2 separate regions of the Homo sapiens genome follow, and region 1 is linked to region 2. The links are contacts of gene promoters, found by promoter capture Hi-C in blood cells and fetal thymus (Javierre and others, 2016). All regions are on one chromosome and are shown on one strand. The core of a region is centred on a gene start or on the middle of the fragment in contact, and the rest is flanking DNA. Distances in the headings are between cores, read along the strand shown. Region 1 holds the start of ACTR10 (actin related protein 10). Region 2 holds the start of GPR135 (G protein-coupled receptor 135).

What was found. The method cuts DNA at HindIII sites, captures the fragments that hold promoters and counts their contacts. A CHiCAGO score of 5 or more calls a contact.
Region 1: a contact is called between the fragment with the promoter of ACTR10 here and the fragment with the promoter of GPR135 in region 2, in 2 of 17 cell types (total CD8 T cells and non-activated CD4 T cells). The highest score is 7.3, in total CD8 T cells.

Annotation. Positions count from the first base shown.
Region 1 is chr14:58,197,277-58,204,149 of GRCh38, forward strand. It overlaps ACTR10 (actin related protein 10), which reads left to right and starts at 2,873. Exons shown (of 13, transcript NM_018477.3): 1 at 2,873-3,018; 2 at 5,579-5,651. The coding sequence starts at 2,942. RefSeq lists enhancers at 2,316-2,445, 3,066-3,255 and a silencer at 2,516-2,905. The HindIII fragment of the contact is 4,366 bases long and covers 1-3,231 here.
Region 2 is chr14:59,460,771-59,468,022 of GRCh38, forward strand. GPR135 (G protein-coupled receptor 135) reads right to left here and starts at 4,610. Exons shown (of 1, transcript NM_022571.6): 1 at 1-4,610. The coding sequence starts at 4,456. The coding sequence ends at 2,972. It also overlaps a transcript of L3HYPDH not described here. RefSeq lists a silencer at 4,141-4,680. The HindIII fragment of the contact is 8,985 bases long and covers 1-6,320 here.

The DNA.
Region 1 (6,873 bases), core at 1,623-4,122, 1.3 Mb before region 2:
TCGCGCCACTGCACTCCAGCCTGGGCGACAAGAGTGAAACTCCGTCTCAAAAAAAATAAAAATAAAAATAAACAAGAAGAGGGAAATTTGTTCAGCCGAATACAGAAAAAATAAAAAAGAAAACAATTAAGAAAAAAGGAGGGAAATCTGGACACAGAGACACACACAGAAGGAAAGTGATGTGAAGACACAGGGAGGAGTACATAATGTGAAAAATGCAGACACAGCGAAGAAGGCCAAGTGATGACAGAGGCAGAGATTGGAGTTATGTATCTACAAGCAAAGGCACATCAAAGATTGCCAGCAACCACCAGAAGCTAGGAAAAGGCAAGAAAGAAGGCCAGGCACGGTGGCTCATGCCTGTTATCTCAGCACTTTGGGAGGCTTAGGAAGGCGGATCACCGGAGCTCAGTAGTTTAAGACCAGCCTGGGCAACACGGTGAAACCCATCTCTACAAAAGATGTTAAAATTAGCCACGCAAGGTGGCACATGCCTGCAGTCCCAGCTACTTGGGAAGGTGAGGCAGGAGAATTGCTTGAGCCCAGTCTGGGGTTCAGTGAGCCAAGGTTGCACCACTGCACTCCAGCCTGGATGACAGAACGAGACTCTGTTAAAAAAAAAAAAAAAAAAAAAAAAAGCTGGGCGCGGTGTAATCCCAGCACTTCGAGAGGCCAAGGCAGGCAGATCACCTGAGGTTAGGAGTTCGAGACCAGCCTGGCCAACATGGTGAAACCCTATCTTTACTAAAAATCCAAAACAAACAAAAAAAAATAGTTGGGCGTGGTGGCAGGTGCCTGTAATCCCGGCTGCTCCAGAGGCTGAGGCAGAAGAATCACTTGAACCTGGTGGGGCGGAGGCTGCAGTGAGCTGAGATCGAACCTGGGTGACAGAGCGAGACTCCATCTCAAAAAAAGAAAAAAAAAAAAAGACAAGAAAGGATCCTCCTCAAGAGCCTTCAAAGAGGGCATGACCTTGCTCTTGCTGACACCTTGATTTCTGACTTCTCACCTCCAGAAGTGTGAAAGAATAAATTTTTTGTTTCCTTGAACCACCGTTTGTGGTACTTTGTTACGGCAGTCCCTAGCTAACAAATACAGCTGGTGAGCTGTCATGGAAAACATAGAATAGGTAATAACAAACTTCATCATTTCAATAGTTTCAGAAACATAATTTCAAATTGATCCTTACAAATACCTTGTGAAGCAGCAGAACAGTTTACAGATAAGGAAGTGGACGATCAGAGGTATTAGGGACTTGACAGAAAGTGGCAGAAACAGAATCTGAACTCAAGTAAGGGGTCCTATTCAAATAATCTGACTCTATTAAGCAAAAAATTTAATCTCTTCCCACGTTTCTTAAAGTTTTCTTCCCCGTCACAACTCCAACTTCATTCTCCTGTCTCCAGGAATTTGCTTTCAAGGAGGATCATTGATCAGTAATTTGGACTTAAACATGAATTTTACTAATATCACATTCCAAATTTCTGCATTGTTACAGCCTTAGTTTTTGTTATGGAAATAGCTTATCCCCAACTACCCCGCTAACTCTAGTTACCAACCATTAGAGTAGGGCCTTTTTTTTTTTTTTTTTTTTTTTTGAGAGACAGGCTCTCACTCTTGTTGTTGCCCAGGCTGGAGTGCAGCGGCACAATCCCGACTCACTGCCGCTTTAGACTTCTTGGGCTCAAGGGATCCTCCCGCTTCGGCCTCCCAAAGTGCTGGGATTACAGGTGTGATCCTGCGCTCGGACAGTTGGGACATCTTAATACAGTATAACCTCATCTTAACTTGATTACATCTGCCAAGACTCTATTTCCAAATAGGGTCACATTCTGAGGTTCCCAGTGGACAAGAATTTTGGGGGGGGGGGCATCATTCAACCCAGTACACCAGCTAAATGTTGCTAGTCCTCACCGATTTACCCTTGAACCTCTTTTCTTATTGCACAGCCTCTCCTTTGACAGTCTTTTCCACTCCTATGCATAGATACAGTTAGAGCTAATATTTGCAGGAAAAAAATATTTTCACAGAAAGCTGTGAAGTGACAAAGATGTAAACAGTAATGTAAATGTTAAAAGTAGTGGCAAAAACAGCAATTACTTTTGCACCAACCTAATAGGGGCCTTTGCTTCAATGTTTCTTCTATTAAACCATCCCGACCGCTCCTCTATGGACAGATTCAAGATTCACAGACGCTACTCTAGCTGCTTAATTCTGGAGTAAAATAAAAACTTTCAGAAAGACTACTAACTAAAGTATTGTCTGTACGTATTATTCTCTAAAGCATCATTAGCATAGGCTTTGCAATTAGGAAGTCTGTGGGTTTGTTCCTGGCTCTGCCGTGGGACATTGGGAAAGTTAATCTCTCTGAGCGTCGGTCCCCACAGATAAGAAAACACATATTCTTGTTATTTCTTGAGAAGATTAAATATTAGGCAAAACGCCTAGCACAGAATAGGGTCTCAGCATCTTCTGCCCCCCAAGAGCATGAATCAAAGGTTCGGAATTGCGTCGTCTCTCGGCTGCCCCTTGGCAGCCAGGTCCTCAGTGACCTCTTCACAGTGAGCTGAGACCGAACCTCTTCACAGCCGCGCGTGGGTGCGGCTTTGGGGCGTGGTGGGAGGGAAGGATAGGGAGGCCGGCTCCGCCCCCTCAGGGCGACCGGCGCGCCTGATCGCCGCGGCCTCCGCGCCCCCGCACTCGGATTCGCGCCCGCCAGCGCCTCTTTTCCCCTAGTCCTGGCGACGGCAGCACCTGCAAGGGTGGGTCCAACGCGGAATGAGGCACAGCCTGGGACAGCCCGGGCCCGGCGCGCCGCGGCCGCGCGAGGCCCCCGCCGTCGCCGACGCCCGAGCGCCGGAGCCCCGGCCCCGCCCCGCGAGCGCCGAGACTTGTTGGCCGCGGAGACTGCGACCCTCTTCTCTCAGTCTGCCTTACTACCATGCCGCTCTACGAGGGCCTGGGGAGCGGCGGGGAGAAGACGGCGGTCGTGATCGACCTGGGAGAGGCCTTTACCAAGTGAGTGGCCGTGACGCCAGCTGTGTTCGACCCGAGGGGAGGGCGGGTGGCAGAGCCCCAGGCACTGCCTGGGTCCTCATCGCCGACTCGCTGGGCAGCTCCGGGCCTCCCCTTTTCTTCAACCAGCGCCCTTGCAAATAACAGCTCTTATTATTTCCTCCCTGGGCGATGCGAATCCGAGGATCGGGGTCTGACTCCCAGAGAGGCCCAGAAAGCTTCTGTTGAATTGCCCTCGTCGCCGCCCCTTGTCATCACCCCAAACCCAACAAACCCTTTGGGATCATCTGTGTAGGGGATGACAACCGTGACCTAGACCCCGCTTACCCTGGGCTCCTCAGTTGAGGAAGGCAGCCAACCGAATGTAAATGCTCGATGACGAATTTCATCATAAAATATTGAACGGAGTTTATTTTGGTGCTGAAAATGGAAAGATGTTTAAGACAGGGCTATCGCTGCTCAAGAATTAGGGAGACTGGGCACATTAAGAGGTGAAACCCTATAGATAAGATTCTGGAAATCCTTTGTTGGCTCCCCTAAACTCGAAGGTTAGATTTGACATGTTTTAAACAAACCAACTTGTAAACAATAGAGAGGAGGTTCTCAACCTTTCGGATGGCATAGATCTCTTTAATGGCTGGATGAAAACCACAAATGCACAAATCTTAAGGTACTTATACACAGTTTCAGGGAATTGGCAGACAATCAATGTGGTCCTGGGACCCTAGATTAAGAGTCCTTGTGATGGGCTCAACAGAGAGGGAAGTAACAGGCAATTACATCATATATGTATTTATGAAAATGAAACATTTGAAAAATCTTTTTATATCTCTAGGCACTTCCTGACGTGTAGTAGGTATTTAATAACTATTTATTGACTAAGTGGTTAAAAGAGCCTATTTAAAAATTGGACCCCAGGAACTCCAGAATTGGATTAAACATAGTCCTTGGTTAATGACATTCTCTTATTGTTCTATGCGAGGCCCTTCCTTATTTATATTTTCTTATTAAAATTATTTTGAAAGCGTAATAAACAGTTCGAGGCTTCTAGTCAAAGATAATTATTTTGGCTGTACTTGGAAGAAATAAGCAAAAAGCTATATTTGAAAAAGACAGCAGGAGGATGATAAGATAAATGTATGAAGTAAAAAAAAGGAATTGAAGTCTAATGGCTTGCATTCTGAGATGTTTGAGGAGCACTGATGCAAGTAAACATGGAGACGGGAATAGGAGGAGATGGAGAGAATTATTTGGGAATACGAGGAGAGCAGTATCAAAAACTAGACAGGACAAGAAGACAGGATGTTAAGACTAAACTAGTATGATGATCATTTTTAGCAACGTTTTTAGCAAATTTTTGTTTTACTAACATGAAACAAAAATGGAAATACCTAAATACTCAAGAAAAGAGCATCGTTTTTAAAATAATGAAATATGTGGTTTTAAAAATAATACTGTAATTCCAGCAGTTTGGAAAGCTGAGGCGGGCTGACCACTTGAGCCCAGTAGTTCAAGACCAGCCTGGGCAACATGGGGAAACCCAGCTCTACACAAAATACAAAATTTAGCCGGCGGTAGTGTCGTGCCCGAAATCCTAGCACTTTGGGAGGCCAAGGGGGGAGGATCGCTTGAGCCTGGGAAGCGGAGGCTGCAGTGATCTGAGTTTGTGCCACTGCACTCCAGCCTGGGCGACAGAGCGAGACCCTGCCTCAAAAAAAAAAAAAAAAAAAGTGATAGCAATGAAGATTATGTTAATATGGGCAGAAGCTTACTGTATGAGTTAATTATGTATGAAGTGTGATTAAAACTATGTCAAATATATATGCATAATCATAAGAAGTAGACTGAAAGTGAATACACCAATATGGAAGCTAACAATATTAGAATGATGGAATTATGAGTGATACAGATGAATTATATGAATGAAGTCACATAATGTAGTACAGATTCAGAGTTGTAGATATGTCTTGCCTAAATTCTGCTAAAATTAACAACTAGGAAAAAAGTTGGCCAGGCGCGGTGGCCCACGCCTGTAATACCAGCACTTTGGGAGGCCGACGCGGGCGGGTCACGAGGTCAGGAGATCGAGACTATCCTGGCTAACACGGTGAAACCTCGTCTCTACTAAAAAAAAAAAAAAAAATTAGCCCTGCGTGGTGGCCGGCACCTGTAGTCCCAGCTACTCAGGAGCCTGAGGCAGGAGAATGGCGTGAACCCGGGAGGCGGAGCTTGCAGTGAGCCGAGATCGCGCCACTGCACTCCAGCCTGGGTGACAGAGCCAGACTCCATCTCAAAAAAAAAAAAGTAAATGCTGCCCTAAAATAATACATTTGTTTTTTTCAGCATCACGAATTTCATAGAATTTTTTTCTGTTAATACACAAGCATTAATAAATAGTATTATTAGTTTTGTGGAGTGATTTTTTTTGATCCCTTAAAATACATCAGGTATTTTCAAATGTTATTGTGGCCATTGTTTTGAAACAAATACAGAGAAAATTAGTTTCTGTGACAAATATTTAAAAGAATACTATAAGTTGTTTCAATTTTCCATTTATTTGCAGGTGTGGATTTGCTGGAGAAACTGGTCCAAGATGTATAATTCCTAGTGTGATAAAAAGAGCTGGGATGCCTAAGGTATTTAAAAAAAAATATTAGCAAAATAAATGCCATACTATAAAATGTTTTAAAATATGACTTCAAGTAAGATTGATTAAAACAGTACTAAAGGCCAGCCGTGGTGGCTCACGCCTGTAATCCCAACACTTTGGGTGGCTGAGGCGGGTGGATCACCTGAGATCAGGAGTTTGAGACCAGCCTGGACAACATGGTGAAACCCTGTCTCAACTAAAAATACAAAAATTAGCCGGGAGTGGTGGCAGGCACCTCTAATCCCAGCTCCTCAGGGGGCCGAGGCAGGAGAATTGCTTGAACCCGGGAGGCGGAGGTTGCAGTGAGCCAAAATCAAGCCATCGCACTCCAGCCTGGGGGGCAAGAGCAAGACTTCGTCTCAAAAAAAAAAAAAAAAAAAGAAACAAGAAACAGTACTAAATATATACTTTGTGGCTATATTTCCAAGGAAAAGTTTTTCTTTTTAAATCAACTTTATCAAGGTCTAATTTTGCACACCATAAGTATATCATGTTGTACAAGTACCACCACAATCCAGTTTTAGAATGTTTTCATCACCCCAGTAAAATCCCTAATACCCGTTTACAATTAATCCTCATTCCTATCCTCAGCCCATTAGGGTGTACCTTCTGTTTCTATAGATTTGTCTTTTCTGTACATTTTATGTAAATGGAATCATATATCAAGAGAAAAATTTTAACTTCAGTAAAATACTTTTATAAGTCTTATAACCACTGAATTATTTTATTATTTATAATATATCAGATATTTATTCCCTTATTTACAGTTTCAAAACCCAGAGAATTTTGAAAACAAACTTTCAAAAAGTTTCTTGCCACAGCTAATTTGGCAGATTAGAAATTACAACCAGTAGAAAGAATGATTTTGCATGTTATAAAATTCACTTGTTAAAAAATGAGATGTAGCTGTTACCACAGTAACATTATATATGCATTCCAGAAAATACCTTTGTTCTGCAAAATGGTACATTTTTAAAAAACAAAACAAAACAGGCTTATGGGAAAAATAAGCTTGAGGTAGTCCATATAAAACCTGTGTAACTTTGTAATCAGAGGACTAGCAAAAACAATAATTGATGCCTCCACAAAATTTAAATAGGATTGGCAGGCAGCTGAGTGTGGCTGGAGGCTGTCTTAGGGAATATTAAAAATAAAATTGTGGGCTGGGCAGATTACACGCCTGTAATCGCAGCACTTTGGGAGGCCGA
Region 2 (7,252 bases), core at 3,360-5,859:
AGTACTCAATATTTAATCCATTCCAATATTTCATAGCTTTTCTTTCTCGTTTTCCCATGAAGTCACTATAATTGCATACTCATAGTAAGCACAACGAAAGGTCGAAGTCTTAGATTATTTTGAGAATCATTCTTTCTTCACCTTTTGAGGTATTGATTGTCTAAGTATTTACACTGGGTCAAATGGGTGGCTGACTTATACCTGCGTATCTCTTGCTTCCAAGTTCATCTCTTTTCTTTGATAGCCTCTTCTGAAAGTGCTACACCTTTTCTTTTCCACAAGTAAACTTGTTATGGCTGATTGTTGTTACAAAGCCACAAGGTCCTTGCTGAGGCTGTAAGCCCTCTGCAGATGAGTACTGTGGCTTCTACCTTTTAGTAGCCTTAGCTCCCAGGAAGTTGCCCTTATATAAAGTAGGAAACAAAAATGGTAGATGATGATCACGATGATGATAATGATGACAGTACCATAATTGATCATGATTGATTTCCTTACCTGTAGACTTCTGTGGGGATAGAGAGAAACAAACATGGAGTTCTGAGGCCAAACAGACTGCAGTTCAAATCCTAGTTCTACCACTAAATAGTTGGATAGCCTTGGATTAAAAACAAACAATTTAGAGCATTGTAAATTGTTCAGTAATTTATGAACAATTTTCTCTTTTTCCCCTCCAATTCTTGCCTACCATGACTCTCGGAGCCACTAACAGAATGGCCTCTTTCACAAGCCATGCCTTTCCTAAAACTTCCTGCCACCGAAAAGGTAGGGCTGGAATTCCTTTTCTTCCTTAAAGTCCTTCATGCCATCACCTTGTCACTTCCAATCTCTCAGATTTTCCCTTCACTCACCAGGTAGGTTTATTCTATATCACATTTATTTTTCAATGCCTTCCTTCAATTCTTCTTCTCAGGCAACACACTATTTTGCAACACGCTCACCTCCTTACTCTAAGATCTCTAACCCTCTGCCCTTTATTCACAACTGTACTTCTATTCTATGATGTCTTTTATAATTGAAGACTTTATCATTTCTCTCTAAATCCCAAAAGTGACTCGGTGCCAAAAAATACACAATTTTTTGCCTTTAACAGGCAAATACCGCAGACACCTGTTTTTGTTAGTCCAGCTGCATGAAGTCTGTATATGCTTTATAAAATAAGGGCTAGAGGGGAGGGATTATCTCATCTACTTTGTACTACATTGAGTGTAGCAAAATATATACAATTTACAAACTTCTGATTTGTGATGATACCCTGAGAAGCAGAAAAAATTAAAACATCTTTAGCTCTGACATGACTCATATATTTCCACCTTTGATTACAAAATAATGACATGTACCCACCTGTCAAACAAAGAAATACTTAAAAACATATTTAAATACTTTACAGGAAGAAAATGCTGGCTATTTCACATTGAAATCTTCATACGACAGCTAATGTCTTTTCATATCTACTGTAAATAACTTGTTCAATTAAGGCTATGAAATACTGAAGAAAAGGGGCAGGATGGAGGAAAAGAAAGGGAAAAATAATATTTAAAAAAATTCTGAGTAAATGATTCTGTGTATAGTCGTATTTAACATTAGAAAGTTCACATACGCTTTTGAATTATTGTAAAACCATCTTTTCTGCTAAGATAGAAATTTAAAAAGCATCTTTGATTTGCATATTTCTAAAGATATTTTCAGTTTGCTTGAAGTTCTTCTCCAACTTTATGCCTGTGTTTTAATACCGTTACATATAGTCCCACACCTATTCTCCCTTTAATAAATACATTATCTTCGACAAGTCATAGCTATAAAGCAACCATCAGCTATTTTAAAAAATACAAAATATACCAAATTTCTAAATGTAGGAGGGTATGATCTATTTGGAAAAGTCTACGCTAATTCCAAGAGGCTGCTTCTCAAAATAGTTTTAGAATTTCTCTTTGGAATCGTTTTCAGTTAGCTAAAAGCCACGTAGGAAACCCAACCTTGTTGTTTTATAGAGGTCTCATTTTAAAAAATAATAAAAATTTAAATAAAGTGGCATCACTCACCTTATTCAATCAACTTGACTTCAAATTACATTTTTGGCTATATCCAAAAATCAAATTTACCTCAAAAGACAAAAATTTTCTACAATGAAAATATTTTTTTAAATGTGAAAGCATTCTGAGAGCAGCATTCCAAAATTTATCAGAAATAAAAGTAACAGGTTAGAGTAAGGATAAAACTTCAAAGTTTTCCAAGGAAGATCATTTTGGAGGTATGACGCGGGTGGAAGGAATGTTAATTTTTACATATAATCTTGGAAAACATTTAAAAGACACATTTCTTTATGTTCATACTTCTATTTGTCCTTCAGATGGTTGAATTTTATCTAATAATAACCAGCTTTTCAAAATCCTAAAATGATTTTAAATGGGTTATGAATTAAAAATTTTCCACAAAGGTTATTAGGGGGTGGGGTGAGGAGGTGCACCAATGTGTGTAAGGATAAGACTTTTCCACTTGCAATCTAAGCACCCAAAGCATGTCAGAGGTGCAAGCTCTAGAAGCTAAAGTTTTGTTGGATGGTAGCGATTTAGAGGGGCTTTCAAGCAGCTCTGAAGGTCTCCATTCATTCCTGAAATTCTGTGTAGTTGAACAATACTGGTTGCATTCAATGTTTTGTTTGTTTCACAGTGTGGTCCTATAATATGAGCTTTTCAGTTATAGTGAATGTTATTTTTGTCATTTTTGGCACTTACAGTTCACAATGCTTGGTTATGTGGTTTAAGATTGTTTTAATTTTTGCATTTTACATTCCTTTTGGCACTTTTGAAGAAGGGACATTGTCTTTTATGTTGTTTGGGGAAAGTGGTAAGCCTCCCCCGTCTCTAGCTTTAAATGTTTGGCTTTATGAAATCCACAACTCTCCCCCAGAATCTTCCATCATTAAATAATGCGAGTGGAAATTTGCCTTCATAAGCTGGCCATTCCAACCGTCTTAGAGGCTGGTATCCCCAGCTTCGGATTTAGGCTGTTTGGTCACTGCCGTCACCGGCTCTGGTGGTCCCTCTCGGCAGAAAAGTACAACTGGATTTTTGCGGGCCCACATGGCCACGTCCCCTGCCACTCCGCTGGCCGGGTTGGAAGAGGACATCCTGTTGCAGGCCCCCAGCCGGTTGGCATAGCGGTTTCGAAGGCGACTGCGGCTTCTGGCTTGCAGACCCGGGCCCTGGCTGGGCAGGAAAGCGTCCACATTCCTAGTCCGGTAGCCCTCCTCGCGGTTGCGCCCTAGGAGCATCGAAATGTTGGGATTGCGGATGGCGTAGATGACAGGGTTGATGGCCCCATTGGCCCAGGTCAGCCAGACGGCCACCACGCTGAGGAGCGAGGGGGCCTGCATGGTCTGGGCCTGCCGGGCGGCGGCCAGCAGCACCAGGAAGCAGTAGGGCCCCCAGCAGCAGATGACGAAGACGATCATGATGAGGACGGTGGTGGCCGTGCGCACCTCGCTGAAGAAGCGCAGCACGCGCGCGTAGGTGTTCACCGGCCGCACGCGCACGTCCGACAGGCGCACCGTCTTGCAGATGTGGTAGTGGCAGAAGCACATGAGCAGGAAGGGCAGCAGGTAGCAGGCCACCACCAGCCCCACGCTGAAGGCCGCGCCCAGCTGCGCGGGGTCCGGGGAGGTCCGGTAGAGGCAGCCGTGGAAGCTCTGCGCCGCCGCGAGTTCCCGGGGCGCCCCGAGCAGCTCCCAGGGCAAGGAGAAGCCCAGGGCCGTCAGCCAGGCGCCCGCCAGCAGCTGCAGCGCGCGGCGGCGGCCGATCTTCTCCCGCGGCGGCCGCACGATAGCGCAGTAACGGTCCAACGAGATGAGCGCCACGCTGAGCGTGGACACGATGCCGAAGCACGAGCTGAAGAAGCGGCTGGCGGCGCAGAAGCCGCGCCAGGGCCCCGCGGCGGCGGCAGGCGCCGAACCCCCGGGCGGAGTGAAGAGGTCCAGGAAGGCGGCGGGCAGGCAGAGCAGCGCCGTGAGCAGATCCGATAGGGACAGCGACAGGATGAAGGCGTTGGTGACGGTGCGGAGCTGCCGGTGCTTCACAATCACCCCCATCACCGCGCAGTTGCCAAGGCTAGACAGCAGGAAGATGAGCAGGAGGACGAGCGCCTGGGCCGCCACTGCAGCTCCGTGCGACAGCAGCGGCGCCGCCTCCGGGCCTAGCGGCCGCCTCACCGCCGCCCCCGCCTCCCGCGCTGCCCCGGACCCGCCAAGGCCGCCGCCACCGGGAGCGGCAGCTGTGCCGCCTCCGCTTGCGTCGCTCAGGTTCCCCAGCGCCGCGGTCGCCACGGTGCTGAAGGAGAGCACGGCCGCCGTGGCCGCGGAGGAAGTCCCGCCAGGTGGGCCGGCCGCGGAGGGGGCGCCGGAGTGCTGGCTGCCCAGTAAGGCCATGCTCGCTGGTGGGCGGGGCGGCTGCGGCTCCTCCATGGGGCCCAGTGGCGGCCGCGGATCTCCTCATCCCGCACCGGGGGCGGCGGCCGCTAGGTCGGAGTGGTGGCTCGGGGCCGGGGGCTAGCGGCCGCCGCGGGGAGCTGGGCTCGGCCGGAGGGGTGGCGGTCGCTGGGGACCTGGCGGAGCCTTTGACGTGGGTTCCAGCGTTGCCGAGGGAACCGCGTGTTTACGCAGGAGCGCGGGGCGGGACGGCAGCCCAGTACCCGCTGCAAAGCCGACCCGCGACACCGCCACTCCGGAGGTTACCGGCCCGGGTGTTCGGGTTTCCGAGAGTGCCAGGTCGACCTCCTGAGGGACCAATGTCCGGCCAGATAAAGTGCCGACTGGCATGCAAACAAATGACCAGATTCAACGAAAGTTCACTCTTGCTCTCTTTTGTAGGGTACAAATGTTCTACAGGCAGGCCTTTTGGGGAGTGGTGGGGGGGGCACTCTGCTTCCTGTGGGTGCTTTTGGTATATACAGGTAGGAAAGGAATCTAGAAAGTGAAGTGAAAGAAAAATCCAGAAGTCTACATCCAGACATCTTAAACTTGAGAAGCAGACTAATTTAAACCAGTAATTCTCAAACTTGAGCTAACAGAATTCACATAGAGGGCGTGTTAAAATACAAGTGACGAGGTCTGAACCCCAGCGTTTCGAATATGTCTGGGGAAGTACCCAAGAATTTGTATCTCTAACGGGTTCGCGGGTGGTGATGATGATGCTGGTCCCAGGACCACACTTACAGAAGCACTGATGTCAAGAGTTTCATAAAATGCAGATTCCCAGGCTGACAGAATTACTAAGGATGGGCCCATGACTCTAAACCCCGTAGGTGATTCTGATACAGGTGCTCTGAGGAGCTAGGATAGTTCCTTTAGATGTTACTTCATTTCCAAGGGCCTGGACCTCAGGCCCCTACTGGCTGATAAATGGGGGGAGAGGGATTGGTGCCTTGCCCTGCTAGCAGCCTTCATCTGTTCTCAGGAATGGGGTATGTTTTGAGTCTAAGGTGCTGCCAGCCTGGCAATCACCACAGATGCAGCTCCAGGTACCTGGCTGGGAGATACGGGGAAAAGAAAGGCAGGGCTACCCAGGGAAGTTGCATCTCAAGTTTCTGGGCATGGCCTCTAATGGGGAAAAGTGTGATAAACCCTCAGGTTAACTAACCCTGGGCTCTTCGCTAAAGCAGTGGTTCACAGAGTATGGACATTGGACCAGCAGCATCAACATCCCCTGGAAACCTTGAGAAATACAAATTATCAGGCCTACAGTGCATAGGATACCCCTGATCTACTGAAACTCCTGTGGTGGGGCCCAGGCACCTATGTTTTAACAAGCCCTCCCAGTGATTCTGATGCACAAATTTGAGAAACACTGCTCTAAAGAATGACTAGTATATTTGTAGATCTTAGAATCAATGGTATTAGTATTGGAGTGCTTATTTCATTCAGAAAAAATATCCTACAGGAAATTTACAGTATAAATAGAAGAACGTTTAAGGTGGCAAACCAAAACTGGGTTTGTCAGCCTAAGCGTCATGGACTTTTGGGCCAGATAATTCTTTATTGCAGGGGCCATCTATACATTGTATGATGTTCAGCAGCATCCCTAGTTCCTACCTACGAGATGCCAGTAGCACCTCTCCCAGCTGTGACAACTAAAACTGTCTTCAGATATTGCCAAATATCCTCTTGGGAGCAGTCAATGCCAGCTTAATCTAGACTGATTTTGTCTTAATTTTGTCAATCAAAGCAAAAATATAATTATCATACATTAATTTATTTGGCAAACACAATCTTCTCAGATTGTGCTTAGTTTTAGGAAACAACATATAAGATAGGAAACCCAGCCCAAATAAGCTTAAGCCACCGGCCAACACAGTATATTACAGTGTGCTAAATATTGTCTTAAAAATATGTGAGTGAAATTATTTGTCTTCCTGACAAAGACTTTGTACAAGAGGTGACATTAGACTTTTTAAAAAAAGAAGAAAGGGAAAGAACATTTGATGAATGTGCAAAGTCTGGAGGTTAGTGTTGAAGTGAGCAGTGTCTGAATTCTAGGATATTGGAGATGGGGAGTGAAGAAGGAAATAAATGATCAAAGTTTATTGGGGCTACCTTATGATGGGCCTTGTAGGCCATGCTCTGGAGACTGAACTTCATCAGGGGAGGAGGGGCTAATAGCATAAGGGAGGGCCGTGAGCAAGTGCATGGTTCAGAAGGACCAGAAGGACTGCACTCTTCTGCTTCCTTCCTTCCTCATCTTTCTCAGTGTCCTCTCCTCTGCCAGTTCATCCTCTTCCACCTGCCTTTACATGCTGGAGTTCATCAAAGCCCTGTTCTCAGCTCCTCTGGACTCCCCCCTCGGCCCCATCTCACTCACATCCAGGACTTCAAAGATAATCTATATATTCATTACTCAAATTATGTCTGTGGCCCCAACCTACATGTCCTGCTACTTGGCATCTCTCTCCTTGATGTGCCAGTGGCACATCAAATGGGTGCATGATCTTCTTCCTACTTCCCCGGTAAAACTTGGTCTTCAATACTCTGTATCTCAGAATATGGTAGAACCATCCTTCTAGCTTTTAAGCCAAAAACTTAAGAGTTTTCCTTGATGAATCCCTCCTCCTTACCACCAGTCCACATCCAATTCATCAACCAAGACCTATGGATTTTAGTTGCGGACTATCTTTGCATCCATTCATCTCCTCCATCCTGAATCTTGGCTCTCATCCTCTCTTTGGACTACTGTTGTCACTGTTGTCCTAACCGGTCTTCCCACAT